Regions from separate parts of the Homo sapiens genome. Here all the other regions are linked to region 3. The links are contacts of gene promoters, found by promoter capture Hi-C in human tissues and cell types (Jung and others, 2019). All regions are on one chromosome and are shown on one strand. The core of a region is centred on a gene start or on the middle of the fragment in contact, and the rest is flanking DNA. Distances in the headings are between cores, read along the strand shown.

Region 1 (5,890 bases), core at 2,541-5,040, 730 kb after region 3:
TCAAACAGCTATAAAACACCCAAACCCGCTGTGCTGGGTAAGTCACTTAACCTCTTTGGGTCTCGGCTTCCATAATCATCAAGTGGTCTTCAGGATTAACACCACTCTCTGAGTCTATGAGCTTGACATGACTTTGTATAAACCATGTAGCATTTTTCATTGCTACGATAATTTTCTTTTGATCCTTTAACATCTCATTCTGTATCTTAAAATCATTTTCAGGGATGTAAATGACTTCACCTTTAGTTTATGTGTGGTTTCACATTCTTTTCCCTCATTCAGGGTCTGCTATTACGTTCCTTACTCCTAATAATCATGAGTTGACTGTATAATGATGAACTCTCTGATGTAGTAAAATTGGGAATGATAATGCTGCTGAAAAATAGAAGTTCTTATCACCTAGCATGTTATTGATATTCAGTGATTGGCAATGATTACAAATGTGTGATATACTGAGAATAATTTTGCAGAGCACTACAAATAGGAAACAATAGTAAATTCAGCACAAATAAGGCACAAGGTTAAATTTCAAATGCCTAAACATCAAGTACAACTAGCAGATTACGAAACACAACCCCTGACTAAGTATCAACCAACTGGTTACTCCTGCCCTGGACAATGTAAAAATTGTGGTTAGTATGTAACAATGCATTCCTTCAAAAAAGCTCCAGCACAACAGAGCTAGAGCATGATCCATTCATGTGAACTAGCTTCTATTGAACCCAGATGTTTGCCTGGAAAGAAATTTTGAATATTCTCTGTTTCTAGCTTGACCTTTTGATTAAGTCTCATGGTCATCAATGATAATAAAACTGACTTTAATAACATTAGAAGGTACAGGCATGAGTGGATAGGACTGGTAAAAATATCTGCAGATGGGGCTGGGCGTGGTGGCTCGCACATGTAATCCCAGCACTTTGGGAGACCGAAGCGGGTGGATCACGAGATCAAGAGATCGAGACCATCCTGGCCAACATGGTGAAACCCTGTCTCTACTAAAAATACAAAAATTAGCTGGGCGTGGTAGCAAGCACCTGTAGTCCCAGCTACTCGGGAGGCTGAGGCAAGAGAATCGCTTGAACCCAGGAGGCAGAGATTGCCATGAGCTGAGATGGCGCCACTGTACTCCAGCCTGGTGACAGAGTTAGACTCCATCTCAAAAAAAAAAAAAAAAAAAGTCTGCAGATGGATGAGAACTACCGTGGGCTGAAGACTAACATATTTATGAGACTGATTTAATCTCAAAATCAATATGATTAAGCAAGTAGGGAGATGCACTGTTGGTGAATTTAAAACCACAGATCAGTCGAGATACATTTAGTAATTACTTTGGGCTTCAGTTTTAAGTTTTATCTGAATGTCAAACTATCAAAACTATTGAAACAAGAAGACTAAAACAGGCAAGGTGGAGGGAAAAGCTATAAGCAACATAACTCACTAAGAGAAAGTTTATATGAAGTTTTCAAAGCTCGGTCCAAATTTGGCAAAGAAGCAAAAAAGAGAACAGTGGCAAAAGAGTTGGAAGAGAAAAGGCTGTCTTTAAAAATGATGCAGTCTGGCACCACCTAGTGGTGCCACACAGATTCCTGCACTAGGACAAGCACCTTGTGTCAACATGAGTGACTAAAGATTCCATTAAAAATTTTTCCCTGAAGTCAGCACTACTTTGGTAATAAATTTTGACACGCTAAAAATGTCCTAAACATGTGGATTTAGAATCTAAATTAGACAAAGCACAGACAGGAGGACAGAACACATCATCCTGTAACAAGAATTGAGAAGCCTCGTCACCAGCTGGCTAGAAAGATTAGCAGCTCTGAGAAAACTCAATTCTGGGTTTTTAAAACCTCAAACGCTTTAGTTTATGAAATTAAAAATAAACAAGCAGCAAAAATGTTCTTGGACAGGAATGCAAAACTAGCATGAATAACTGGAGAAGTCATCAAAAACAAAGAAAAAAGAAAAATTTCAATATGACACACTAGGGACAAAAGAATGCAGAATAATTAACTATGGCAGAAATCCGAAAAGAATCCTGCTATCACCGTGGACATCAAGCTAAATAGAGATTGTATTACTTAGCATGTTACAAAAAAGAAGATCTGGCCGGGTGCAATGGCTCGTGCCTGTAATCCCAACACTTTGGGAGGCCGAGGAGCGTGGATCACGAGGTCAAGAGATCGAGACCATCCTGGCCAACATGGTGAAACCCCGTCTCTCCTAAAAATACAAAAATTAGTGGCGCACGCCTGTAGTCCCAGCTTCTCGGAAGGCTGAGAAAGGAGAATCGCTTAAACCTGGGAGGCAGAGGCGGAGGTTGCAGTGAGCCGAGATCTCACCACTGCACTCCAGCCTGGCAATAGAGCAAGAAAAGAGAAAGAAAGAAAAAGAAAGAAAGAAAGAAAGAAAGAGAGAGAGAGAGAGAGAGAAAGAAGAGAGAGACAGAAAGAGGAGAGAAAGAGAAAGAAAGAAAGAAAGAAAGAAAGAAAGAAAGAAAGAAAGAAAGAAAGAAAGAAAGAAAGAAAGAAAGAGGACCCTTCAACAAGAACATGGCATAAGGTGAGTCCATTTTATTTGGACTAATTATAGTTTAGAGGGTCTACAATTACAAAGGCATGGACAATCTGAATAAGGTTCAAAGAAAATGAAGGCAATGATTAAAGGAGAAAATTCACAGTGCTTCTGGCATGAGACACTTCCTGTTCCCACACTCCCAGCCCATGACAACATAGATAGGTAACATTTATCAAATGCTCACTACGGGTCAGGCCCTGAACCAAGTGCCTGTAAAGGTCCACCTCATTCATGTCTCAAAACAACCCTGGCCAGGCACGTTGGCTCACACCTGTAATCCTAGCACTTAGGGAGGTCAAGGCAGGAGAATCACTTGAGGTTAGGAGTTCCAGGCCAGCCTAGCCAACATGGCAAAACCCCATCTCTACTAAAAATACAAAAATTAGCTAGGCGTGGTGGTGCACTCCTATAATCCCAGCTACTCAGGAGGCTGAGGCACGAGAATCGCTTGAACCCGGGAGGCAAAGGTTGCAGTGAGCCGAGATCGTGCCACTGCACTCCAGCCTGGGCAACAGAGGGAGATTCCGTCTAAAAACAAACAAACAAAACAAAAAAAACCCTATAAAAAAGATACTATTATTCTCATTTTATAGATGCAGCAACTGAGGTTTAAAGAGTTAAGTTCAAGGTCACTTGGGAAGCAGGTAGCAGAGGCAGGGCTTTTCCCAGGCCAATTTACCCCTTCCATCAGGGCTGTAGCTCTTATTCTTTAAGCAATATTCTTCCTGTCCTCTAGCAGACTTCCTCATGCCTATACACTCAAGTCTTGAGATGACTTCCTACCAAAGCAGGAAATATGAAAGGGAGAGGAGCACAGTGAGACTCTTCTGCCCAGATCACCTAAAATAAGACGCTAAAGCTGAGGGCCTTTGAATGTGAGTTCTTCCCCTCATCTTTCAGAAGAACTGAGGCCTGGGGGAAATAAGTGATGCGCCCAAGGTCACACGGTGGAGCTCTGCCTAGAAGCCTGGTGTTCAGACATCGGTTTAGGGATCTTGATGATTTTACACAAGTAAAACGATGCAGGAACCAGACAAGAGAAAGTGCACTGACTTCCTGAGCTCAACTCTGGCCAGCTTGATCCAACTTCCCTTCTGCCTGACTGACTTCGGAGACTGAGGACTGGCTTTGGACCTGAGAATCTCCTGAATCTTGAGCCTAGCAGGTCTTCTGCTCATTCTTGGTCACAGAACACCCTAATCTCTAGATTCACTAGATGCTTACATCTGCCTAGTTTTGTCCCAACCCCCAGCAAGTCCCACTGCTGTTCAGGTTTCAATGTGATACCTTGCCCAAAGCGTTTGCCTTCTAATTGTTTCCTACTTCCAACCTCTCTCTCCCTACCCCAAACCCCAAACGTTCCAAATCATTTTGCATGCCAACCACTTTAAATCACACTTCTAGTAAAAACTTCAAAGCTCTTCATCGCATCTGATGAATACAAGCCTCTTTAACCTGGGCTTCATGAGCCTCCAATATCTAGCTTGAAGCTACCAATTCACACACATCTCTAGCTGGGCATGTTGGCTCATGCCTGTAATCCCAGCACTTTGAGAGGCTGAGGCGGAAGGATCGCTTGAGCCCAGAAGTTCCAGACCAGCCTAGGCAACATAGCGGGATCCCATTTCTTCAAAAAAATTAGCCAGGTATTGGTGGCATGTGCCTGTAGTCCCAGCTACTTGGGAGGCTTAGGCAGGAGAATCACTTGAGCCCAGCAGGTCAAGTCTGTAGTGAGCTGTGATAGCACCACTGCACTCCAGTCTGAGTGAGACCCCATCTCGAAAAAAAAAAAAAAAAAAAAAAGGCCGGGCACGGTGGTTCACGCCTGTAATCCCAGCACTTTGGGAGGCCGAGGCAGGCTGATCACAAGGTCAGGAGATCGAGACCGTCCTGGCCAACATGGTGAAACTTCGTCTCTACTAAAAATACAAAAATTAGCCATGTGTGGTGGTGCACACCCATAATCCCAGCTACTCAGGAGGCTGAGGCAAGAGAATTGCTTGAACCCGGGAGGTGGAGGTTGCAGTGAGCAGAGATCACGCCACTGCACTCCAGCCTGGGCGACAGAGCGAGTCTCTGTCTCAAAAAAAAAAAAAAAAAAAAAAAAAAATACAGGGTCTTCCAAAACTGAACTGTCAGTGAGAGGGAAGCGGATTGTAAAAGTCAAAGAAACAATGTCGTCTGAACAGTTAACTAACTTTTCAAAATCCATACATGAAAGAGTCTCAGAATAAAGATGTTACCAATTGCTATCTAGGTGGGCATACCAAATATTATAAGACACCAGGCTGAATACAGGCAGGAGCATTCTGACTATGTTAAATATGCAACTAGACAATGCTTAACTGTTATAACATAAGCCTCATTTTAAGCCAAAGGTAAGGAATTCTCATTATATCATGAGCAAGTGAAAATGATTCACTTACAGAAAATGTCCACTTGATTCAAAATGACAAACTAGACACTGAGGTAATGTAGCACGGATCGTTAGTCATGTCATTCATCCGGCAAAAATGTAAGCCACTGGCAAGTTTACAAAATGCTTTTGAGATAGTATCATACACCAAATGCAATAAAATAATGCCATAGGCAAATAGTTGTTAAGTTGAGGAAGTCCTTCAAATGATCTCTTCTTTCCACTTTCTTTTTCCTGTTTACCAAATACCTAAGTTCTCTCCAGGTTTCTAACTTTTTCTCTCCTACTTCTCTTTTACGCTTCCTATTTGGGTAGCATAGGGTAGTGGAAAGAGGGCTGGCCTGAAAGACAGATGACCTGGCTTCAAATCTCAGTCCCATCACTTAGAAGCTATGTGGTGACTTTGGACACAAAGAAGAGGAAACCCTTGAGCAGAGCCTAGAAGGAGAATGAGTTCAGTTCTGCCAAGCAACAAATGAGAATGGCATTCCAGGCAAAGAGAACAGCCTATGCAAAGATGTGGCAGTGTGAAGGAGGGACCAGGATAATAGGCTCAGAGCAAGAGGGTGCGTGAGGAAGTGGAGGAGAGGCTGAGAAAGGGAGCAAGCTAACGACAGGCACTGAACTTATTTCCTTTTTATTTTTTTAATTTATTTTATTTATTTATTTTTTGAGACAAGGTCTCACTCTGTCACCCAGGCTGGAGTGCAGTGGTGCAATCAGGAAGCTTATGGCAACCTCGACCTCCCAGGCTCATGTGATCCTCCCACCTCAGCCTCCCGAGATGCTAGGACCACAGGTGCACACCACCACAACCGGCTAATTTTTGTATTTTTTGTAGAGATAGGGTTTCGCCATGTTGCCCAGGCTGTTATTTCTTTAGGTAACAACCATTATATA
Region 2 (6,334 bases), core at 2,445-4,944, 600 kb before region 3:
TTTAGGGAGGTTAAGATTATGGGCTCAGGAATCAGTCTGCTGACTGCAGTGTGTATACCACGAGAAGTGATTTTTCACAGGTTTTGTGGGAGATTATTGTCTTCCTTTTTTCTTAAAATATTGACGAGAAGAAAAAGTGGACAAGTTATTGGAACATCTTTTTATGATTGCAATCAAATGAGTGAGAAAAACATATTTGAATCATTTCTTAGGGTATAAAGGGAAATATTCTTGCTTATCCTATAGATGTTTTTACCACAAAATCAGGATTTAAAAAAAATATCCAGGCCCCATGTCATGTGATCATCTTCAATAATTTGGGGCTTCAGAAATGTTTTACAGATATATAAAGAAAATTGTGTTGTCAAGTATAAAAGTAAAAAAAATTCTAAATGTCTATAGAATTTCTGTATGGCTTCCTGAAAACAGACTCAAAATACTCTGCATTCTACTCAAATCACTATGCATTTTGATGGTTGATATTTCATATTAATTCACATGATTCTTTTCTTTTCACTTTGCAGAGATGCTGATGCCACCAGAATAGATATTTATGCAGGTAAGTCAGGCTTTAGTCCTTCTAATGTCTAGTTCATCTTAATGCATTTATTACTGTGCCTAAGAAGAATTGAGTGGGAAATAACTGGATTCGGGAGCCTGGGAAGATGGCATGATTATTCCAGGTCATAGGTAGAAAAGGGGCAGCCGTAGTCAGGTATGGTCAGCTCTGGTCAGGCATAGAAACCAAGAATATTGGTTTCAAGAAACTAACACAAGGTATCCAAATCTATGTAAATAGCTACTAGTAGAGTTATGGAAGTGATGGAGTGGAACAGTAGAGAGTGAAATGACCAAGTTATTTTACTGGTAGGCGTTAATAGGTGAACGAGGTTTGTGGTACCTGCAGCCAAGGAGAGATCTTGTTGGAGGCCACTTTGTTTTGAACTCTTGGTGAGCACTAGTCTCAACTTGGAGAATTGCTGGTATCGGTTGCGGAAAATAGCAGTAACTGGATTGGCTCTGAGGTTTGCTGAGTTGTTCTCAGAGGTGTCAGGAAGGAAGGCTGCTTGGCTTGGAATTTACACCTGTCAACATCCTATTTCGTTTTGCTTATTTGGCTCTGCTGTTTTGTAGTAAGATCTTCTCCTTTTCCTAGAGTGAGTGCAACAGTCATTGGCCTTTTAATTAATTAACTCATTAATTTTAATAGTTTGCTTTCTGCCTGGTATTTGTACTAGCACCTTTTTTAGTCATTTGAATACTAAAAATTTGAAAGCAGAATGGAGGAAGACAGCTTTTTTTTTTTTTTTTTTTTGAGATGGAGTCTTACCTTGTCACCCAGGCTGGAGTGCAGTGGCACGATCTTGCCTCACTGCAACCTCCATCTCCCAGGTTCAAGCAATTCTGCCTCAGACTCCCAAGTAGCTGGGATTACAGGCGCCCACCACCACACCCGGCTAATTTTTTGTATTTTTAGTAGCGACGGGGTTTCACCACGTCGGCCAGGCTGGTCTCAAACTCATGACCTCAGGTGATCTGCCTGCCTCGGCCTCCCAAAGTGCTGGGATTACAGGCGTGAGCCACCACACCTGGCCGGAAGACAGCTTTTAAATACAATTCGACTAGTGTGATGTGTTTTTTTCTGACAGACTTTTCTGAAATCCTCTGAAATGTGTGAGGTGATATTTTGAGTAGCATGAACTAGGTTCTGAGAAGTCTGTATGTTTACATGGGAATGAAATAACCCCTCTTCATGGACCCTTTTGATGAATGGGAACAAGCACACAACTAAGTAGTAATTCTCAGAACCACTAATGTCATATAATTATGAAGAATCTGCCCCAGATTTGATGAATTTCTCATGTCTGCTATACTTTGGAGCAAAGAAAATCCTCAGAGCAGCTAAAAGTCAGCTGTACTGCTTCAATTCTGAAAGCCTTTTGTTCAAAAGGCTCTGCCAAAGTGGTAAAAATAAGGCTTCTTTTCTCTCTAGAAGAAAGTAACAGGAAATAGGGGCACACAGGAAAAGAATGTTAGAAGATGATTACTAAATGCTCAGGCCAAGGCTGGGCGTGGTGGCTCACACCTGTAATCCCAACACTTTGGGAAGCCGAGGCAGGCGGACCACCTTAGGTCGGGTGTTTGAGACCAGCCTGACCAACATGGAGAAACCCTGTCTCTACTAAAAATACAAAATTAGCCGGGTGTGGTGGTGCATGCCTCTAATCCCAGCTACTCGGGAGGCTGAAGCAGGAGAATCGCTTAAACCCAGGAGGTGGAAGTTGCCATGAGCCAAGATCGCACCATTGCACTCCAGCCTGGGCAACAAGAGCGAAGCTCCGTCTCAAAAAAAAAAAAAAAAAAAAAAATGCTCAGGCCAGATGGAGGTGCCTTTCCAAGCCAAAGCATGTATCTTACATCTGAGTGTGCTTTCTCAGGAATGGTAACAGCTACCGCTGGAAAAATAGGGCTTATTTAATCAATGCACAGATGCTAAAGCAGAGAATGGGCCTCTTCTCCAAGTGATGTTGAAGGTACAAATCGTAATGGTCAAGTCTACTTGGAAGACGTTTTTTAAAAAAGATCATCTCTGCTGTCTCCTACTACATTTGGTGGGTAAATTTCAGCAAGGAAGTTTAGTTCCTGACACTCAGAATGAAGTTGGATTTCAATTTAAATGAAAAAGGACCCAGTGTGTCTTTATTCTGTGCTCAGTACAACTCCTGTTATGCTTTGGGAAATGTCCAGAGAGGAGGAGATGGGGGTCTTTGCTTTAAGAACTTAGTCTTTAATTGGAGAGACAATTAATGCACTATGGATAATTAGAGAACAATAACTAGATCTTGAGGGAACAGTCAAGACAGTTAAGGATTAAATGGTGTGATAGAAGCACTAAGCACCATAGCATTTTGGAAAAAGACTTGATTTACTTCAAGTACCAGGAGATTGGGATTCTTGGCTAAGGGATCTTTAACCCTACACTTTTCTACCACAGGGCCTTGTTAACACATTCAACAGGAGAAATCAGTCCGTGGAATCTTTTTTTTTCACCCAGGCTGGAATGCAGTGTGCTATCTAGGCTCACTGCAACCTCCACCTCTCGGGCTCAAGTGATCCTCCTACCTCAGCCTCCCGAGCAGCTGAGACTACAGGCACACACCACCATACCTGGTTAATTTTTGTATATATATTTTTTCACCATGTTGCCCAGGCTGGTCTCAAACTCCTGAGCTCAAGTAATCTGACTGCCTTGGCCCCCCAAAGTGCTGGGCTTACAGGCTGAGCCGATGCGCTTGGCCAGTAATAATCTTAATACTATAAAGTTCTTGTTGTTAGTTCATGGGGGAAAGTATTTTCTTATCTCCACTTCTGAAACTGATTGATAACTGGACTTGGAAATCTTTCCAAACATCAGATGTAGTTTGAAGTCACCACAAAGTCACATTTAAAGACCATTTTTAAACCTAAAAAGGGCAAAAAAGGAGCCAGCCTCTCAAAGTGTAGAGGTGTTCATTTACCCAAAGCATATTATTATTAGTTGGATTATTATTATAGACCATAATATGCCTGTCATAAGCAGACTGTTTTTGTTGACTTTCTTGACCTTCTGGGGTAGGTAGTGCCACCTCCTTGGAAGAAAGATCCTTTTCGTGATGCCAGGGCAATGATTAACACATGGAAAATTGGAGCAAATGAAACTGCAATTAATACTGCTCAAACAGATTGCAGAGTATGATGAAGAACTTGGATGTCATTTTATTGCAGCCTCTCCTGGGGACACCATTATTTTATCACCTTTGACTTTTGGATGTATAGCTCCATTTGACATCTCTTGTCTTTTCCTGCTTTCTTTCTTTATTCTTCCCAGTGGGAGTTAGATGAAGAATGTCTGGCTTGCAGAAGCCAGACTTGGCCATTCTGGGAGATGTGCAGACTTTCAGATTGGCTTTGACAGTCTTACAGAGCTGTTCCCAGGATATGAAGCACAGCTGCAAAGCAGGCAGTTCGGCTTTGCCTTCTCTTACTTTCAAGATGTGTGATGGGAGGCGGGGAACATACAACCCCCAGCTGCTTAGACTCTTCTTTATCCAGAATTCCCCTTCCTTTATCTTTGGAGGCTTCAGATATCACTCAGTTGACTGATTAAATATCAGGTGATAGGAATCTATCTCTATGGTGGAATATATGAGGAGATAGTTTTGAGCAGGGACGCCTTCGAGTTCTTGCTTGCTCTAGTTTAGTGCTTCTCAAAAGGTGGTCCATCCACAGATGTTGTCAATATCATCTTGGAACTTGTTAGAAATGCGAATGCCCCACCTCAGACGTACCCAGACTATCCAGGGGGAGCCCAGAATCTATTTTCACAAGCTCTTTGGATAATTCTTACCCATACTACATTTTGCTCTAGCCAATACTTTTCTAAGCTTCCTTCAGCTTAAACCCTCCTGTCCTTTACTTCCTAGCTTATCTGCTGCAGGCAGTAGAATCCATTAGATGTAAGCTCCATGAAGACAGTGATCGCATATGTACTGTTCACTGCTCTTGTCCTCATCATAACCAGGCACAGAAGAGCTGATCACTAAGTAGTCATTAAATAAACAAGTGATTGGCATAAGCATTTGAACAAGGTGAAGAGACCACACTGTCTGTTTACAAAGTTGAAGAAGTCAATGCTGTCTTAGTCTTTCTTGGCCCTGAGGCAGTATTGCATGTGGCCATGGACCTAGACACTACTAGCCATTTATAGGCTGTCAGTTACTATGTAGCCAGGAGGATCCCCCCAGTGTCATCTCTTACCCTTTAAACTACACGAAAAAGCTTTGAAATGAAGTCCTTGAGCCAGAAAAGGATACCAGCCCCACTGTTAAGTGATGATTGTGTGCTAAAGCAGCCTAAGAGTTCTATCCTAACACAAGAGCCTAGAAAGTAACTTCTTAGGCAGTGTCCAAAGAATGCCAGTAGTCCTTGGGGACTTTTCAGAGGTGCTTGGCTTGAATCAATTTCTAGATCCCAAAGCAGAGTCTTCATGCACATTTTGCGGCTGTAGTGTACAGCAAATGGCTCTTGGCTAGGTTTAGAATGCTGCTTTTACCATTCTCTGTACCTGACCCAGTTTGAGTCTCCTTATGACACTTGGCTTCCTCCAGATGGAAATTTTGAAGCCTTTTTGGACTTTTATTGTACTTATTCTTGATTGCCACGTCTCATTTGGATTCCCCAGACTCTGATTAGAGGCACTGCCACCAGGAGAGATTTTATCTAACCAATAGTACTTCCAGGAAGATCCTCACCCTTGTACTTTCAAGAAGCACTTGTAATTAATGTTCAGCTTCCTGAACACTGAGTGGTACTTGAAAATCTCTGTGGTTTATAGCCTTACAGAAGCTACTCTGGAGGCTGAGGCAGGAGAATCGCTTGAACCTGGGAGGCAGAGGTTGCAGTGAGCCGAGATCACGCCGTTGCACTCCAGCCTGGGCGACAGAGTGAGACTCCATTTCAAAAAAAAAAAAAATAGCATTTTAATTTACATTAATAAGTCTATTTGACAGAGGGCAGTCCCTACTCACTTGAATTTTTAGCCTGAAGAAAGGACAAAGAGCATTTAAAACAGATTTCTCAGCTTAGATAGTTGTACAAAATTGGTTAACTGAAGCTTGGGGGAGATTCCGAAATCATCAGGGACCAGGCTGCAGAGCAGCCTTGGGCTTGCCCTTGTAATACCTTACACAGACCTCTTTCCTCTTAGAAATGCTACCTTTATCCCTGTGCCAGTCAGTAGACTGAATAGCATCTATATGGGAAGTTGGCTTGCTTGGCTTGTGTGGGTCTCCTCCCTATACCTCTGCCTTACATCCTTCTCTTCTTTGTGTCTACCAACTTCCTTGATTCCAAGGCTGGTTTCTCTTTTGCTCACCTAGTCCTCATCATTGGGTCAAAAGGCACCTTGGAAGCTAGTATAGCCTGTTTCCATATTTGGGAATCGCTTCTCCATTGACCATGACATGCTTGGACCCAGACCACTTTCAGTTAACCACTTTCTGCTGCAGAAGACAACTGCTGAGAGAAGACGTTCTTTTCACTAGAATGGCAGCCGTAGTTTGTTGTGTTCCTTTTCTGTTGGCCAGGAAACCCCACCACAGCTGCTGTGCATCTTATTGTCAAAGGACCATTCCTTCTTCCCATCAGGCAGGTCCAGCTAGGAACAAGGCACCTCCACGTTGTACCATGTGCCTTCTCACTGTTGGGATGGGGAGCCCTTTCAAGGACCATAGCTAGCAGGGGATATGACAGTAAATGCAGATAGCCCAGAATGCCAGTCAGCCTAGGGATGGTC
Region 3 (5,809 bases), core at 3,202-5,701:
CCAAGAAGAATCTGAGCAAACAGGCCTTACTAAATCCATGCCCTCCCTCATGTATTACTACTAGATCATACCTTTTTTCTTTTTTTTTTTTTTTTTTGAGACAGAGTCTTGCTCTGTCACCCAGGCTGGAGTACAGTGGCACAATCTCAGCTCACCACAACCTCCGCCTCCTGGGTTCAAGCAATTCTCCTGTCTCAGCCTCCTGAGTAGCTGGGACTACAGGTGCACACCACCACGCCCAGCTAATTTTTGTATTTTTATTATTTTTTAAATTTTTAATTGTATTTATTATTTTTTTGAAAGAGAGTCTCGCTCTGTTGCGCAGCCTGGAGTGCAGTGGTGCGATCTTGGCTCACTACAACCTCCACTTCCTGGGTTCAAGTGATTCTCCTGCTTCAGCCTCCTGAGTAGGTGGGACTACAGGCACGTGCCACCATGCCCAGTGAATTTTTGTATTTTTTATTAGAGATGGGGTTTCACTATGTTGGTCAGGCTAGTCTCAAACTCCTGACCTCATGATCCACCTACCTCAGCCTCCCAAAGTGCTGGGATTATAGGTATGAGCCACCATGCCCGGCCAATTTTTGTATTTAGTAGTAGAGGCAGGGTTTCACCATATTGGTCAGGCTGGTCTCCAACTCCTGAGCTCAGGTGATCCACCCTCCTTGGTCTTCCAAAGTGCTGGGATTACAGGCATGAACTATCGCGCCCCGCCAGATCATACCTTTGGGTCCACCAATCATAATTCTGCACACTGACCATAAAAACACAGATCTCCTTGTTTCTTTGGGTTTTCATTTCTGAAGGTTTCCATGTCAGGGAAAACTTTTTTTTTTTTTTGAGACGGAGTCTCGCTCTGTCGCTCAGGCTGGAGGGCAGTGGCGTGATCTCGGCTCACTGCAAGCTCTGCCTCCTGGGTTCACGCCATTCTCCTGCCTCAGCCTCCAGAGTAGCTGGGACTACAGGCGCCCGCCACAACACCCAGCTAATTTTTTTGTATTTTTTAGTAGAGATGGGGTTTCACCATGTTAGCCAGGATGGTCTCAATCTCCTGACCTTGTGATCTGCCCGCCTCAGCCTCCCAAAGTGCTGGGATTACAGGCGTGAGCCACCGCGCCCGGCAGGTAAACTTTTATTAAATTTGTATGCTTTTCTCTTGTTAATCTGTTTTTAAAATTTTATTTCATTTATTTATTTTTTAGAGACAGGGTCTCACTCTGTTGCTCAGGCTGCAGTGCAGTGGTGCTGTCATAGCTCATTGTAACCTTTAACTCCTGGGCTCAAGTGATCCTCCCCCTCAGCCTCCTGAGTAGGTAGGACTACAGGTGGGTGCCACCGCACCTGGCTAATTTTTTTGTTTTTTGTAAAGACAGAGACTTGCTATGTTGCCCAGGCTGGTCCTGGCCTCTTGGCCTCAAGCAATCTTTTCGTCTTGTCCTCTCAAAGTGCTGGGATTATAGGCGTGAGACACCTTAATCTTTTATTAAACTTGCAATGAGTGAGGAAAATATATTACTTTTTCTCCCCTACACATTAAAAAGAGTAAAAATAAAGGTCAATTAACTTTAATTTTAACAGCATATTTTATTTAACCCAATATACCCAAAACATTATCATTTCAACATATCAATATAAAATTATTAAGGAGATTTTTAACATTTTTATGGTATTAAGTCTCAAAATCTAATGCCTGTTTGACAACACATGGCCATTTGGACCAGAAACCATTTCAAATGTTCAAAATCTGTGTTGGCTGGTAGCTACTGTATTGGACGGTGCAGAGGGTTGGATGCTGTGTGTGCATTCAGCAAATGAGGACTGAGTATCTGTTCCATACCAGGCACTACGTCAAGACCAGGAACACAGCAGGGCACAAGGAGCCCTGTCCTCCAGGAACTACCAGTGATATCTGAGGGTCTCCGCAAGGGGTAAGCTTGTGTGTGCCAGTTTCACCCATGGGATATCACCCAAGGGATACGTGTCTGCCCCATGATACTCACAACACACATGCCCACATCCTACACTCCTGTTGTCTTGGCAACTGCCAATGAACTACTGCTGCCCAAGAGATTTTATGTCTCCAAGGAGGGAGGCAGAAACAAAGGCAAAATAACACACGGAAGTATTCTGGGTTTCCTTCCTGGAATGGGCATGAAAGAAATAAAGAAATCAAGAAGCCCCCAACCTGGGAGAAAGTGTATTCAGGTGGCAAAGCATCTGGAATTCATAAGCTTGCTTGTGAAGGCACCAGGAAACACTGATCTGTTCACCTTCAAATAACTATAGCTGCCACATGGGGCCATCCTGGATATCAACTCCCAGTAGATCCTGGATCAGATAAGCAGCAGCAAATGCCCAAGTGTCAGGAAAATCCAAGATGACCTTATGTTGTTTCTTCTGAAAATTGAAGTCATGCAGATACAAGCATAGTTTAAGAAGTACTTTATGTGTGTGTCAAGTGAAGAAGCACTTGACGTGAGCTCTTTCTGCAATTCCTGGGTCTTGAGTGGAACCCTCAGTCTGAAGCTGCCAGCCCGGCACTGTACCCATGACCACATAGGTGACAGCACTAATTGAGCCCTTAGGGAGGAGCAGCAGCTATCTCTGCCTCTCCTCAATTTCCTGGGGCTCAAGGTGGACTTTTGACTCCCAGAGAAGAGCAGGAGCCTTTCCTGCATTTCCGTTCAACATTCAAGCGCCTTCTCTCTCTCAGAACTAGTACCCTAACCCTACTCGGTAAAGATGATGCCTACTTCCCAGCCAGGGTGCCTGGTGAGATTCAAAGCCACCACCATGAAAACACGGGAAACTCTAAAACCAGCTATGTGGCAGATGTCAGTCTCAAACATGAGATTGTTAATTGCCTGGATCCCTGGGGATACTGAAGGGACTGAGGGCAAAATAACTAACTGCACTAGTAGAGGAATAAGACTGGCTTGAACTTGCATTCCCACTCTACCAACTCCAAACTTCACTGTCCTCATTTGTAAATAGGTTGCTATAAGGAATAAATGACGTAACACATGAAGTGTTGGGCACAGTATCCGGCTCATAGTAAATGACCAATACATCCCAGCTATCATTATTCTACATTAATAACAACCATGACACACAGCTACGATGTGTGTGGGGGGAGGGGGAAGACTTGAGAGAGCAACCTTTCCTATCACTCCCTCATTTCACAGGTGAGGAAACTGAAGTCCAGGAACAGGTTCGGAGCCAGCTCCCCGCTTTCCAGAGTTGAGGAGAGGAGGAAGGAGAGAGGGGGGAATCGCAGGAGAGGGAGAGAAGCCGGCGGGATTCGAGGTAGGCCTCTGGGGAGCGAGCCGCATAGCTTGCAGGGCTGCATCTGTGAGAGTGAGGGGTGAAGCCTAAAGCAGCAGCCCTGCGTGATGGCTCATGCGTGTAATCCCAGCACTTTGGGAGGCCAAGGCGGGAGGATCGCTTGACCCCAGGAGTTTGAGACCAGCCTGGGCAACATAGGGAGACGTCCTCCCATGTCCCTACAAAAAAAAAAATTTAAAAACTGGCCGGGCGCGGTGGCTCACGCCTGTAACCCTAACACTTTGGGAAGCCGAGGCGGGCGGATCATTTGAGGTCAGGAGTTCCAGACCAGCCTGGCCAGCATGGTGAAACCCCGTCTCTACTAAAAATGCCAAAAAAAAAAAAAAAAAAATTAGCCGGGTGTGGTGGGCGCCTGTAGTCCCAGCCACTCGGGAGGCTGAGGCAGGAGAATCGCTTGAACTCGGGAGGCGGAGGTTGCAGAGAGTCAAGATCGCGCCACTGCACTCCAGCCTGGGTGACAGAGCAAGACCTTGTCTCAGAAAAAAAGAAAAAAGAAAGACAAAGAAAGCAGCAGCCTTGATTTGAGAGGGAGGCCCCCAGTGGGGCTTGAGGGCGGGACTACGGAAGGCAGGGGATGGAAGCAAGAAAAGGCAGGTTCCGTGGGAAAAGCGAATTAAGGGCGTAGGATTTGGAAGCGGGGCTTGGAGGATGTGGGTCTGAAATGAAAGGGGGGACTAAGGGAGTAGGGAAGTGGGGCTCTTAGGCGGTGAGCCTGAGGGGACAGGGGCTCTCCTAAATGAGAGACCAATGGGAGGGAGCTGGGCTCTTGGAAGGCGGGGTCGAAGGGAGCGAGGTACTGGCCTGTGGAGTAAAGGAGCCGCGAGGTGAGTGCGGCGGGGGTCCGGCGGGTGACGTACAACATCTCACCTGTCTTCGGCGTCGCGGCTTCAGCCTTCGTGTCTGGTCGGCTCCCGGAACTGCCCCCGGTGCGCCTGCGGCCACCGGGATCCCCGAAAAGCCCTAGCCGGGCGCTCAGGCCGCTGCCTTGGCAACGGCGTCGGACGCCGCGGTGCCCGCGGGGAGGGGCGGGAAGCGCGTCACGGCGAGGGGACGGTCCCGGAAGTGCGCCAGTCGTACCTTCGCGGCCGCAACTCGCTCGGCCGCCGCCATCTTGCGAGCTCGTCGTACTGACCGAGCGGGGAGGCTGTCTTGAGGCGGCACCGCTCACCGACACCGAGGCGGACTGGCAGCCCTGAGCGTCGCAGTCATGCCGGCCGGACCCGTGCAGGCGGTGCCCCCGCCGCCGCCCGTGCCCACGGAGCCCAAACAGGTACCTCTCCCCCGCCCCTCAGCCTGCAGCCGGAGGGTTGGCCTGGGCGCTCCTTACTCGCACAGGAATAAGCGGCCGGCCGCTATGAAGGGCTTGGAGGGACTGCAAGTCCCAAGAGGCTGCGCGCTTCCCGCGCTATGGTGGTGTTCTGGTAGCGAAATGAGCCACCCTGAACGGGATTCTCTAAGTGGTCCGCGGAGCAGCCCCGTCGGCACGAGCCGGGAGCTTCTTAGAAATGTGGAGTCTCCGCCGTAGATCTTTTAAATAGGAATCTACATTTGAACAAAATCCTAAGGTGATTGATTTATAAGTGCGAGAGGCGCTGATCCAGCCCATCCTCTGATCTTATGTAGCAGTTGGGGCCGCCGGCCACAGCCTTTCCCCAGTAATGGCTAATTTCCCAGCCTGCACGGTACATCTTTGGATGTTAATTCTCAGCATCTATTTCGGTGTCTGCCCCAAGCCAGACACCGTGCCAGGCTCCCACATTACCGGAATGAATGGGGCATGGTCCCTGCCTAGGGAGCTCACAGGCTAACGAGAAGACAGACATATGAGAATGCTCACCAAATGTTTGTTGTCCCAATGGCCATCGATGATACAGTGCCAGCCCGCCCTTAATAAAGCTCTCCAATCTCGAATGTGCACAAACCATTGTAGTATGGTGTGATATGCCCTGTGATAGAAGTTTCAGGTACAAATCTAATGAACATTGTTTGCTGGGCTAGAAGGGATATTAAGGTAGGGAAGCCCACAAGAGTGAGAGGTAAATTTCTTTTAGAAGAAGGAATAGGAGTTTGCCAGGTAGGTGACTAGGGAAGGGAAATAGCATCCTTTATTCATCCAGCAAATATTTATTGAACACATACGCTGATCATTGCTTTGGGTTCAGAATAAGGGGGGCGGGGGGGGGGAACATGACTGAAGAAGCCATGCCTTTTCCACAAATATTTAAGTGCCCGTGTGTCCCTGGCATTTTCCCAGGCATTGGGGGAAAATAAGGTAATAGCCAGATAATATGCGCAAAGACACCGAGGTGAATCAAACGGTGTCTCTGATCAAGAGTAAATGAACAAGTGTTGAAGCATAGACTTAGGAGCGTAGTGGCAGGAGATGCGATTCTTACTTAGGATTTGAACTTTTCCTTGTAGACAGTGGGAAGAAAAGGGAGTGTTTTAAGCCAAATAGTGACAT
Region 4 (5,540 bases), core at 2,469-4,968, 780 kb after region 3:
GTGAGACCCTGTCTCAAAAAAAAAAAAAAAAAAAAGAGAAACAAAATTATTCCTGTACTGAATGAGAGGCTGCCATCACATAATCTCCACCCATTCATTATATTCAACTGTGCTTTCTTCCTGGAAGAGCCCTCAACACACACCCCTCATTTTTTTTTTTTTTTTTTTTTTTTTGAGACAGAGTATTGCTGTCACCCAGGCTGGAGTGCAGTGGCACAATCTCCACTCACTGCAACCTCTGCCTCCTGGGATCAAGCCATTCTCATACTTCAGCCTCCAGAGTAGCTGGGACCACAGGTGTGGCTACCATGACTGGCTAACTTTTTGTATTTTTAATAGAGATCGGGTTTTGCCATGTTGGCCAGACTGGTCTCAAACTCTTGGCCTTAATTGATCCACCTGCCTCGGCCTCCCAAAGTGCTGGGATTACAGGCGTGAGCCACCGCGCCTGGCCTCTGGCAGCCCCTTCACATACTGAGTACACATTGCTTCCTCTGAGTTTCCGCTGGTCCTTCCCTCTCTCCTGGCAGACTCCTACTCATCCTTTGAAGCTCAGGTCCAAAGTCAGGTTGGCGGAGGTGGTCACTTCCACCACTCCACAGTCAGTCTGCCACGCTGGGTTCCTAAGGAAAGAGCTGCTCCCACCACATGACACCATTTGCTGTGCTTCCATCAACCCACCTGGGTTTTTCCTGAGTGGCTTTGACTGGGGACTCTGCTAAGATCATACTGACTTTGATTTTTTTTTTTTTTTCGAGATGGAATCTCTATCACCCAGGCTGGAGTGCAGTGGCGCGATCTTGGCTCACTGCAACCTCTGCCTCCTGGGTTTAAGCCATGTTCCTGACTCAGTCTCCGGAGTAGCTGGGGTTACAGGTGTGCGTCACCATGCCATGCCTGGCTAATTTTTGTATTTTTATTTTTTATTTTATTTATTTGTTTGTTTTGTTGAGACGGAGTTTCGCTCTTGTTTCCCAGGCTGGAGTGCAATGGCGCGATCTTGGCTCACTAAAATCTCTGCCTCCTGGGTTCAAGTGATTCTCCTGCCTCAGCCTCCTGAGTAGCTGGGATTGCAGGCACATGCCACCACATCCGGCTAATTTTTATATTTTTAGTAGAGATGGGGTTTCATCATATTGATCAGGCTGGTCTCGAACCCCTGACCTCAGGTGATTCCCCTGCCTTGGCCTCCCAAACTGCTGGGATTACAGGCATGAGCCACTGCGCCCGGCCTAATTTTTGTATTTTTAGTAGAGATGGGGTTTCACCATGTTGGCCAGGCTGGTCTCGAACTCCTGACCTCAGGTGATCCACCCACCTTGGCTTCCCAAAGTGCTGGATTTACTGGCATGAGCCACCGCACCCAGCCTGATTTATTTATTTAATTAAAAAATCATAACTCACTACAGCCTGGACCTCCTACCTCAAGTGATTTTCCTGCCTCAGCCTCCTGAGTAGCTGGGACTACAGGTGTGTGCTACCATGCTCAGCTAATTTTTTGAATTTTCATAGATCCTCCTGCCTTGGCCTCCCAAAGTGCTGGGATTACAGGCATGAGCCACCACACGTGGTCCTAATCTTAAAATTATTATTATTTTTTTATAGAGACTGGGTCTTGCTCTGTTGCCCAGGCTGGAGCGCAGTGGTGCAATCATGGCCTGGCCTCCACTCCCCCCATGCCAAGCATAACAGGAGGCAACCACTAGTCAGTGGGTGGACATTCTTTTGGGGAGCTGTCCCTGCCCCTTTGGAAGTGGATAGAGCCCCTGCCCCCTGTGGGGTCTGCAGGCTCTCCACCCCTGCCAATGTCTGTGATCTGGGGGATTGTGGGCTGAGAAGGGATTAGTTTAGAGGGCGGGCAAAAGAGCTGGGCAGGGCAGAAAGAGGCCCCAGGATTTTCAGGCAGAGAAGTCAAAGGGGGATGAAAAGGGGAAAGGAGATGGTGGAGATAAAGTGTCTGCAGCTGACAGCCTTGCCCCTGTCTTCACTTGTAAGGAAGTTTGTTTCTTTGATGGTGATAAACCTGGCATGTGAATGCCTTTCCCCAGAGAATGCACCACAGAGGAGCACGTAACGTTGTATACAATTTCAGGGGGCTTACTGATGCAACCCCTTTGCAGAAATTTTAACAGTGAGAAAATTATGACAGTGAAAGTGATCTGACCTAACCGACTCCATTTTGCTTCTAACCCCCAAACTGTCCATATTCATTCCTGGGCATAGGCCAAACTTACAGTCTTTTTGTTTGTTTTTTGAGACGGAGTTTCGCTCTTGTTGCCCAGGCTGGAGTGCAGTGGCGCGATCTCGGCTCACTGCAACCTCTGCCTCCAGGGTTCAAGAGATTCTCCTGCCTCAGCCTCCCGAGTAACTGGGATTACAGGTGCCCGCCACCATGCCTGGCTAATTTTTTTGTATTTTTAGTAGAGACGGGGTTTCACCCTGTTGGCCAGGCTGGTCTTGAACTCTTGACCTAAACTTCTGATCCACCTTTGCCTCCCAAAATGCTGGGATTACAGGCATGAGCCACCATGCCCGGCAGCAAATTTATAGTTCAACTTTGAAACAAAGATAACAGCCCTCTCCCAAAATAAACCCCTTTCTTGCCTGGGGACCAGACTGCTTTTGTAAGACTAACAAATTAGCCACGAGATTAGAAATTACGGTTTAGGAGTCATGCAGGTAGTGGCCACAGATTCTAAACCTCCCCAGTTGCTCCTAGGGATAACATCACTACTGTAAAACCTAAGATTGGTGCTCAAGATATTTTTCCGATCCTGCACTCAATGGATCCGCTGGCGATACACAGATTAAGAAACCGGATCATCCGGTTTTGTGGCCCCCACCCAGAGATCCACTCAGCACAAGAGGACGGCTTCCACTCCCTATGATTGCATCTCCGACCTGACCAATCAGCACTCTCCACTCTCTGGCCCCTACCCACCAAATTATCCTTAATAAAACCCAGTCTCCGAATTTTCAGGGAGACTGATTTGAGTAATAATAAAACTCCGGTCTCCCATTCAGCCGGCTCTGCATGAATTAAACTCTTATTGCAATTCCTCTGTCTTGATAAATCCGCTGTCTGGGAAACGGGCAAAATGAACCCATGGGGTGGTTACACTGACCCTCTGCTGCACATCCCGGACAGCCTTGTTAAGAACCCTTGGTAGGCTGGGCATGGTGGCTCACGCCTGTAATCCCAGCACTTTGGGAGCACGAGGCAGGCAGATCACGAGGTCAGGAGATCGAGACCATCCTGGCTAACACGGTGAAACCCCGTTTCTACTAAAAATACAAAAAATTAGCTGGGCGTGGTGGCAGACGCCTGTAGTTCCAGCTACTCGGGAGGCTGAGGCAGGAGAATGGCGTGAACCCAGGAGGCGGAGCTTGCAGTGGGCCGAGATCGCGCCACTGCGCTCCAGCCTGGGCGACAGAGCGAGACTCCGTCTCAAAAAAAAAAAAAAAAAAAAAAAGAACCCTTGGTATTATTGTTCCACGCTCCCATTTTACCGAGGTGGATCCTGAGGCCCAGAGTGGGCAAAGGGCTTGCCAAGGTCGCAGAGCGCGCAGAGGATTAGAACCCTGACTTCCGTCCAGCACCTGCGGAGTTGGAGACGCCCACAGGAAACGCCCACCTGACCGGGTGAGTGAGGGGGCGGGCGAGCCGGAGGGGTGGAGTTTATTCGCGCCCCGCCTCCGCCACCAGGGCTTGGGGGCGGGGCCTTCCTGCAACCTTTGCGGCTCCAACATGGCTCCGCGGCTGTGCAGCATCTCTGTGACGGCGCGGCGGCTGCTGGGGGGCCCGGGGCCTCGCGCTGGGGACGTTGCGTCTGCAGCTGCGGCGCGGTGAGAGCCCGGCCAGGCAGGGATAGACGCGCGCGGGGTGGGGTGCAGGCGCGGGGGCCAGGGACTGGGTCGTGGGGGAGGGGCTGAGACTCCTCGCTTGGAATCTGGGGGTTAGAGGCGGGGCAGGATCAAGGCCTAGGGAGGGGTCTGGGCAAAGAATGGGGGAGGTGAGAAAGGGATGGGTAGGGTCTTTGTCCTGGTTGGGACCGGGCTGTGATGGGGACCTGATGAAAGATGGTGAGAAGGGCAGGTACTGGGCCCTGGAGAGTGGGAGAGGGCAGAAGACAGGAGGAGTGGCCCATTCCCAGGCGTAGCTTGTGATTTAACACCCACTGGGGGCTTCTGGTAGTCAGCTCCTCCGTCGGGAAGTTCTGTGGGAAAGAGATGATGGCAGGGGAGCAGTGGGGGATCCCCAGGGGCCATGGCTGCACAGACCCTTTGTTCCTCCACCTCGAACTGTACAGGTGGGGAAACGGACCTGAGAGGGAATGGGAGTTGTCCAAGGTCACCCTCCCTGCTGTGCCGTGGCAGCACCAGGTCTGGGACCCAGGCCTGCCAATGCGCCATGCACTTTGCACCCAACTGGTGGCCTCCTGGGAGTGGGAGTCTGGCTGGGCCATGTGCTCTCAGCCTGGGCTTTTGTTTGGGCCCTGCTCTGGGCTGAGCTAGGGCTTGGCCTCCCTGACTGGCCCTGGGCAGCCCCTCACTCCTTGGTCCCCACAGCCCTGTACTTCCCCCATCTCTGCATATATGACCCTGCACAGTTATGACTTGGTGCTTGTCTGTCTCTCTCACTAGACCATGATCTCATTTTTCTCTGTTTCCCCAGCCTCCCACCCTCAGAGGGCTCAGGACTGTGTATGGTCAAGGAATATTTACCAAAGAAGTGAGGCCACCTGTTCCCCCTCCCCCAACCTGTGAAAAGGAAGCAACCATCCCTCCTGCCCTGCAGCCCAGGAATGAAGCTGCAAAGTTCTGATAGTGCCTGCCATGAGATGTTACAGCACAGAGCAGTGGGGCTTTTGGACAGCTGGGAAAGAGGAGTGGCATAAGCGCCCCACCTAGACTGCCCAATAATTAGGGATAAAGCTGACACCGTGGGAAAAGCCTAGAGTTTGCCTGGCACTAACAGATCTAACTCAGACTTTGTAGGTGGGGTGACCTCAGGACTCTTTAAGCCTCGGGTTCCTCATCTGTAAAATGGGAGTAATCAGGATGTATCTCATAGGGTTGTTGAGGATTAAAGATGCTGTGGTTGGTCGGGTATGGTGGCTCATGCCTGTAATCCCAGCACTTTGGGAGGCCGAGGCAGGCAGATCACTTGAGGTCAGCAGTTCAAGACCAGCTTGGCAACACGGCGAGATCCTGTCTCTATAAAAAGTACAAAAATGGCCGGGCGCGGTGGCTCACGCCTGTAATCCCAGCACTTTGGGAGGCCGAGGCGGTGGATCACGAGGTCAGGAGATCGAGACCATCCTGGCTAACACGGTGAAACCCCATCTCTACTAAAAATACAAAAAATTAGCTGGGCGCGGTGGCAGGCGCCTGTAGTCCCAGCTACTCAGGAGGCTGAGGCAGGAGAATGGCGTGAACCCAGGAGGCGGAGCTTGCAGTGAGCCGAGATCCTGCCACTGCACTCCAGCCTGGGCGACAAGAGTGAGACTCTGTCTCAAAAAAAAAAAAAAAAAAAAAAA
Region 5 (5,914 bases), core at 3,415-5,914, 520 kb after region 3:
ATCTCAACAATGAGTGCTCTGCAAACACATGCTTGCTGGAGGACTGATGTGCAAAAGAAGGGAACACTGATTCATCTGAGGTGACTCAGAGTGTCTGGGCCAGGCAAGACTCAGACCTAGATATTTCAATGTCTATTTCGTGGCACCGAATATTGACAGTTTTCTCCCTAGTTACCCCTACACTTTGTTGGTTTTAAGAACCATGGACACTCCTCTCTTTTGCCAACCCAAACTATTGTTCTTAAATTAGTTGTTTTTCTTTTAATCTAGAGGAGAAGCCAGGCCAAGAAATTACTCTGTATTTGCATGTTTGCAAATGACTTATGCATGATTTGAGTCCTCTCCTGTTAAACCAGCTTTTAAATTTAATTTCAGTTGGACACATATTAGCTCAGACAAGAATGTGTCCTTTGTAAACCAACATTCCTCATTAAGCTCTTTAGGCAAGGGAGAAAGATGAAAGAAATGTAAAAGTTAACGCTCCAGCTGATAGGGAGTCTCCTTTCTTCCTTCCTTTTCACTAACATTTTTTGAGCACCTACTGTGTTCTTGGCATTGTCTATATTATCTCATTTAAGCCTTCTGTTTTGTTTTGTTTTGTTTTGAGACTGAAGTGCCGTGGCACAACCACAGCTTACTGCAGACTCCATCTCCCAGGCTCAAACTATCCTCCCACCTCAGCCTCCAGAGTAGCTGGGACTACAGGTGTGTGCCACCACACCCAGCTAGTTTTTTTATTTTTATTTTTTGAGAGACTAAGTCTCATTATGTTGCCTGGGTTGGTCTCGAACTCTTGGCCTCAAGCAATCCTCCCACCTCAGCCTCTCAAAGTGCTGGGATTACAGGCATGAGTCACCACACCCAGCCTTAAGCCTTCTAATGATGATGAGGTGGATATTAACTACCTTGTTTAACAGATGAGAAAACAGATATGTTTGGAGAAGTTAGGTGACTTATTGGATGTTTTGTCTTCTTACAGTCATGTTATTTAGTTCCAAAACCTTAGTGATATGAACATCTTTGTACCCATAGGGAAAGATGGAACCAGTGCATATATTTTCTCCAGATCTACTATTTTAAGTTTTTCCTGGACCAAAGGCTGCTGTATGTGATTTTCTCCCAACTAATCACCAAGATACAGATTGCATTTTCCTTGTGCCCAGTGTGTGTGGATGACAGAGAAGAAAAAACAAAATAAAACAAAAACACACAGTTTCTGGCACCTTTTTCTGTCCCTTCCATGTCAGTAGAAGATCAGTTTTCCTAAAAATGACAGCAACAGGCTGGCATGGTGGCTCATACCTGTAATCCCAGCACTTTGGGAGGCTGAGGTGGGAGGATCGTTTGAGCCCAAGAGTTCAAGACCAGCCTGGGCAACATAGTGAGACACCATCTCTACAAAAAAATTAAAAATTAGCTAGGCATGGTGGTGCATGCCTATAGTCACCCCTACTCAGGAGACTGAGGCAAGAGAATTGTTTGAGCCCAGGAGGCAGAGGCTGAAATGAGCCATGATCACACCACTGCACTCCAGCCTGGGTGACAGAGGGAGACCCTATCTCAATAATAATAATAATAATAATAACAGCAACAAAGGGAAACATTCACTGTTCTGACGCAGCTTGTGGCCCTTGAGATCTCTTGGAGCTTGGGGCTAAACAGGGCTGAATTCAAATCCCCACTCCACCCACTTACCAGCTCTGTGACTCTGGTCTAGTCTTTAAACCTCTCTTTAAAATGGGGTCATAATAGCGTCTACCTCTTATCATTGTTACAAAAAGTCAAAGAGCACCTGGCTCAGTGGCTCACACCTGTAATCCCAGCACTTTGAGAGATCAAGACGGGCAGATCACCTGAGGTCAGGAGTTTGAGACCAGCCTGCCCAACATGGCAAAACCCCATCTCTACTAAAAATACAAAAATTAGCCCAGTGCATGCCTGTAGTCCCAGCTACTACGGAGGCTGAGGCAGGAGGATGGCTTGAACCTGGGAGGCGGAGGTTGCAGTGAACCAAGATCGTGCCACTGCACTCCAGCCTGGGTAACAGAGTGAGACTCCATCTCATTTAAAAAAAAAAAAAAGTCAAAGAGATAATATGTGTAAAATGCTTATTCCAGTGCCTGGGATGAAGCAAGGGTTTGACAAATGTGGTCATTATTATCACAACTGTCTTTATCTCTCTGCACCTCTACTTCCTCTGCTGCAGACCTGGGGTTGATATGCATCCTCCAAGTATCTGTGGCAGGCAGACTCTAGAATGGCCTCCATTGATTCACATCTTTTGGTATTCATGCCCTTGTGTAATCCCCTGTGGGCAAATCCTGTGACTTGCTACTAACAAATAGAACATGGCAAAACTGATGTCACTTTCTTGATTAGGTTACATGAGGTTGTAATTTCTCTCTTCTTAGTAGAATCTCCTATTGCCTCCTTTTGTTTGTTTGAGACAGGGTCTTGCTCTGTTGTGCAGGCTGGAGTGCAGTGGTGTGATCACAGCTAACTGCAGCCTCGAACTCCTGGGCTCAAGCAATTCTCCTGCCTCGACCTCCTAAGTAGCTGGGACTACAGGCATGCACCAGCATGCCTGGCTAATTTTAAATTTTTTTTTGTAGAGACGAAGTCTCGCTATGTTGCCTAAGATGGCCTCAGACTTCTGGGCTCAAGCAATCTTCCCACCTTAGCCCCCCGAAGTGTTGGGATTATAGGCATGAGCCACGGTGCCCGGCCCCTATTGCCTTCTTTTATTTATTTATTTATTTTTAATTTTTAGAGACTGGGTCTTGCTATGTTGCTCAGGCTCAATTTGAACTCCTAGGCGCAAACAATCCTCCTGCTTCAGCCTCCCAACCTGCTGGAACCATAAGCATGTGCCACCACTCTTGGCTTCCCTATTAACTTTTAGGCTTGCATGCTTTGATGAAGCAGGCTGCTACACTGGAGAAGCCTACGTGACAAGCCTTTAGCCAAAATCCAGCTAGGAACTGAGACCCTTAGTCCAACAACCATTAAGGAACTGAATTTAGCCACTAGACATGGGAAGCAGATCCTTTTTGAGTTGAGCCTTTAAATGAGACTCCAGCCCTGGCCGATATCTTGATTGCAGTCTTGTGGGTGACCCTGATGCAGAGGAGCCAGCTATGCCATCCTCAGATTCCTGGCCCACAGAAAATGTGAGATAATAAATATGTTTGTTGGCCAGGTGTGGTGGCTCACGCCTGTAACCCCAGCACTTTGGAAGGCTGAGGCAGGCGGATCACGACGTCAAGAGATCGAGACCATCCTGGCCAACATGGTGAAACTCCGTCTCTACTAAAAATACAAAAATTAGCTGGGCCTGGTGGCTCATGCCTGTAGTCCTGCCTACTTGGGAGGCTGAGGCAGGAGAATCGCTTGAACCCACTGTAACCTCCGGGAGGCAGAGGTTACAGTGAGCCAAGATCACACCACTGCACTCCAGCCTGGTGACAGAGTGAGACTCTGTCTCAAAATAAATAAATAAATAAATGTGTTTGTTATAAGTGGCAAGCAGTGTGTTGTTATAAGTTTGTGGTAATATGTTATGCAGCAATACAAAACTAATATAATATCCAGCCCCTCTCATCTCATTTCTGGTTTACAGCCCATCTCTCCTATTTCCTTAGCACCCTGCATTCATCACACTGACTCATTGCTATTGGTTTTCTTGCACTTCCTATCCTGTAAGCCCCTTGAAGACAGGCACTGAACTAAGCATTCCTTGTAGCCCTAGTGCAGATAGCAGGGGTTGGCAGGAGTGTCCTGGGAAATATTTCACAATCCCAGGGTGGGGTTGTGTTCTCCATTCGGGGGCTTCTATAACACCCCAATAATGATGGTGGTTGGTTTTGAATTCTTACTGTGTACCAGGCACTGAGATGAAGCCAGGAATGTGTGTTCTTAACAAGTTTTCTGTGATGATTCTGATCCATAGTCAGGCTTAGGAACCACTAAACCTACATTACCTGAGACATTCTGTAGAAAAAATTGCATCCTTCTCTTAGGATAGCTATACTTGTAACTTCCTTAAACAAAACAGAACAAAACTGTATTGCATACATACAGAAAAATGCACAAATCTTAAGCGTACAATTTGATGAATTTTCCAAAGTGAACACATCTACATGGCTACCACCGAGATGAAGACAGGGGGTGACCCCAGCCTCACTTGTGGCCCCTCCCAGCCCACAGCCCCAGAGGAAACCACCAATTTTAACACCATCACTACTCATGAGTTCTGTCTGTTCTAGAATTTCCCGTAAATGAAATCGCAGTCTGTACTTGTACATCTGCTTAACATTATGTTCGTGCTTTTGACTTGTTAAAATTTCTCTTCTGGATTAAATATGTAAAACGGTGACTAAGGAGGTCGGGCAGAAGGTGGAAGCCTGGGATTCCGAGACGTCCTCTCAGGTGCCATACTTGGATTTCCCGAGAGGTGTAATCACACAGCCCGCCCTCAGCTGACCTATTCTCTGCTTAAGCAGGAAGGGAGATAGGAGGGGAAGGGGGCGTGGCTACAGACGCCGAGTGTGGGGCGGAGTCTTAAGAAGAGAGGCGCAACCCGGGTCCGGCTTCCCGGCGGTAGTTTGCTCGGCTCTGGGGGCGGGGCCAGGCCGAGACTTCCTGTCTGCTCCTGCGGAATCGCAGTTTGACCCCGGAAGTGCGGGCGCTCAGGGAGCTGTCACCGTGGTCGGCGGCGGCGGCGGCGGCGGCGGCACAGAGCCGGTGGTGGAGCCGCCGAGGTGAGTGCGTGGCTGGTCCCTGCCAGATGCAGGGCAAGGGACCCCGGAGGAGCCGCGGCTATGCCTTGGGCAGCCTTGGCTCTCCCATCCTCTGGCCTCCATTGCGGGGCCCACGCTTACGCTACCTGAGGGGTTGTGAGCCGCCTCTCGAGACTTGGCCGCCAGGGTCAGGAGCCACGGGTTCGAAGTTCGGCCCCAGAGTGGCGTTGGACCAGCCACGATCCCCCCACGTCCTCACACCCGGGGCTTCAGTTTCCTCAGGGTTCATTCATTCGTTCAGCAAATATTTGTGGAGTGCTTCCTATGTGCCAGACACAGATCTAGACATTGGGGATACAAAGAAAGCAAGACAGACAAGGCTTCTGCCCTCATGGAGCTTACAGTCTAGTGGGAGGAGATGGTCAACGACAAGCAAATGCACAAGGTCATTAAAGCTATGACAGTAACTGGGAGAGTGGATACTATAGGCAGAGCCATCAGAAGGTCTCTGAGGAGAGTAGTATTTAATTGAGAGACTAGAGGAATGATGACAAAGAGGCTGAGGGAGCAGTAGCCCCGGGGATGCTCCCAGGCCATATTGCAATTGGGTGCTTGTAGGGAGCTCCCCCTCCCTTTCTTAGCTTTTGGCTTTTGCTGTCCTGCCTGGCAGGGGAATACAGTGGTGGGCACAGACATAGTCATGATTATTGTTTGTCCTTTTGGAGCTCAAAGTTCAGATTGTCCAGTTAATTTATTTTTTCCCCCCAAGACGGGGTCTTGCTCTGTCGCCCAGGCTGGAGTGCAGTGGCGTGATCTCGTCCCACTGCAACCTCCGCCTCCCGGGTTCAAGCGATTCTCCTGCCTCAGCCTCCTGAGTAGCTAGGATTACAGGCATGCACCACCACGCCCTGCTAATTTTTTTTTTTTTTTTCGGTAGAGACGGGGTTTCACCTTGCTAGCCAGGATGGTCTCGATCTCCTGGCCTCGTGATCCGCCCGCCTTGGCCTCCCAAAGCGCTGGGATTACAGGCGTGAGCCATCGCGCCCAGCCCTGCCTACTTAATTTGTACCCGTGCTTTAGACAAAAACTCAGGTCTTCCTTGACATCACTTCTTCCTCAAGCCAGGTCTCTCTTTTAAATGCTGCCACAGCTTCATGAGCCTTATCTACATAGCT

Evidence for each region. The method cuts DNA at HindIII sites, captures the fragments that hold promoters and counts their contacts. A contact is called where the count stands out against the background at its distance.
Region 1: a fragment that was not itself captured here is called in contact with the fragment with the promoter of SF3A1 in region 3 in 2 of the 25 tissues and cell types used here (dorsolateral prefrontal cortex and spleen).
Region 2: a fragment that was not itself captured here is called in contact with the fragment with the promoter of SF3A1 in region 3 in 1 of the 25 tissues and cell types used here (small bowel).
Region 4: a contact is called between the fragment with the promoter of NIPSNAP1 here and the fragment with the promoter of SF3A1 in region 3, in 5 of the 25 tissues and cell types used here (IMR-90 fibroblasts, adrenal gland, bladder and 2 more).
Region 5: the fragment with the promoter of ASCC2 here is called in contact with the fragment with the promoter of SF3A1 in region 3 in 1 of the 25 tissues and cell types used here (hippocampus).

What each region holds. Positions count from the first base shown.
Region 1 is chr22:29,621,441-29,627,330 of GRCh38, reverse strand. All of the region lies in intron 1 of NF2 (NF2, moesin-ezrin-radixin like (MERLIN) tumor suppressor), which reads right to left. Among named protein-coding and RNA genes, the nearest start is that of NF2, 21 kb to the right of the region's middle. The HindIII fragment of the contact is 8,231 bases long and covers 1-5,890 here.
Region 2 is chr22:30,950,988-30,957,321 of GRCh38, reverse strand. It overlaps MORC2 (MORC family CW-type zinc finger 2), which reads left to right. Exons shown (of 26, transcript NM_001303256.3): 3 at 525-559. Among named protein-coding and RNA genes, the nearest start is that of MORC2, 15 kb to the left of the region's middle. The HindIII fragment of the contact is 6,988 bases long and covers 201-6,334 here.
Region 3 is chr22:30,355,536-30,361,344 of GRCh38, reverse strand. It overlaps SF3A1 (splicing factor 3a subunit 1), which reads left to right and starts at 4,451. Exons shown (of 16, transcript NM_005877.6): 1 at 4,451-4,615. The coding sequence starts at 4,553. It overlaps CCDC157 (coiled-coil domain containing 157), which reads right to left and starts at 4,338. Exons shown (of 12, transcript NM_001017437.5): 1 at 4,213-4,338. RefSeq lists an enhancer at 2,970-3,569 and a silencer at 4,505-4,754. The HindIII fragment of the contact is 21,616 bases long and covers 1-5,809 here.
Region 4 is chr22:29,579,291-29,584,830 of GRCh38, reverse strand. NIPSNAP1 (nipsnap homolog 1) reads left to right here and starts at 3,718. Exons shown (of 10, transcript NM_003634.4): 1 at 3,718-3,846. The coding sequence starts at 3,749. RefSeq lists a silencer at 3,912-3,961 and an enhancer at 3,945-4,557. The HindIII fragment of the contact is 21,243 bases long and covers 1-5,540 here.
Region 5 is chr22:29,837,024-29,842,937 of GRCh38, reverse strand. ASCC2 (activating signal cointegrator 1 complex subunit 2) reads left to right here and starts at 4,664. Exons shown (of 20, transcript NM_032204.5): 1 at 4,664-4,760. RefSeq lists an enhancer at 4,332-4,391. The HindIII fragment of the contact is 14,310 bases long and covers 1-5,914 here.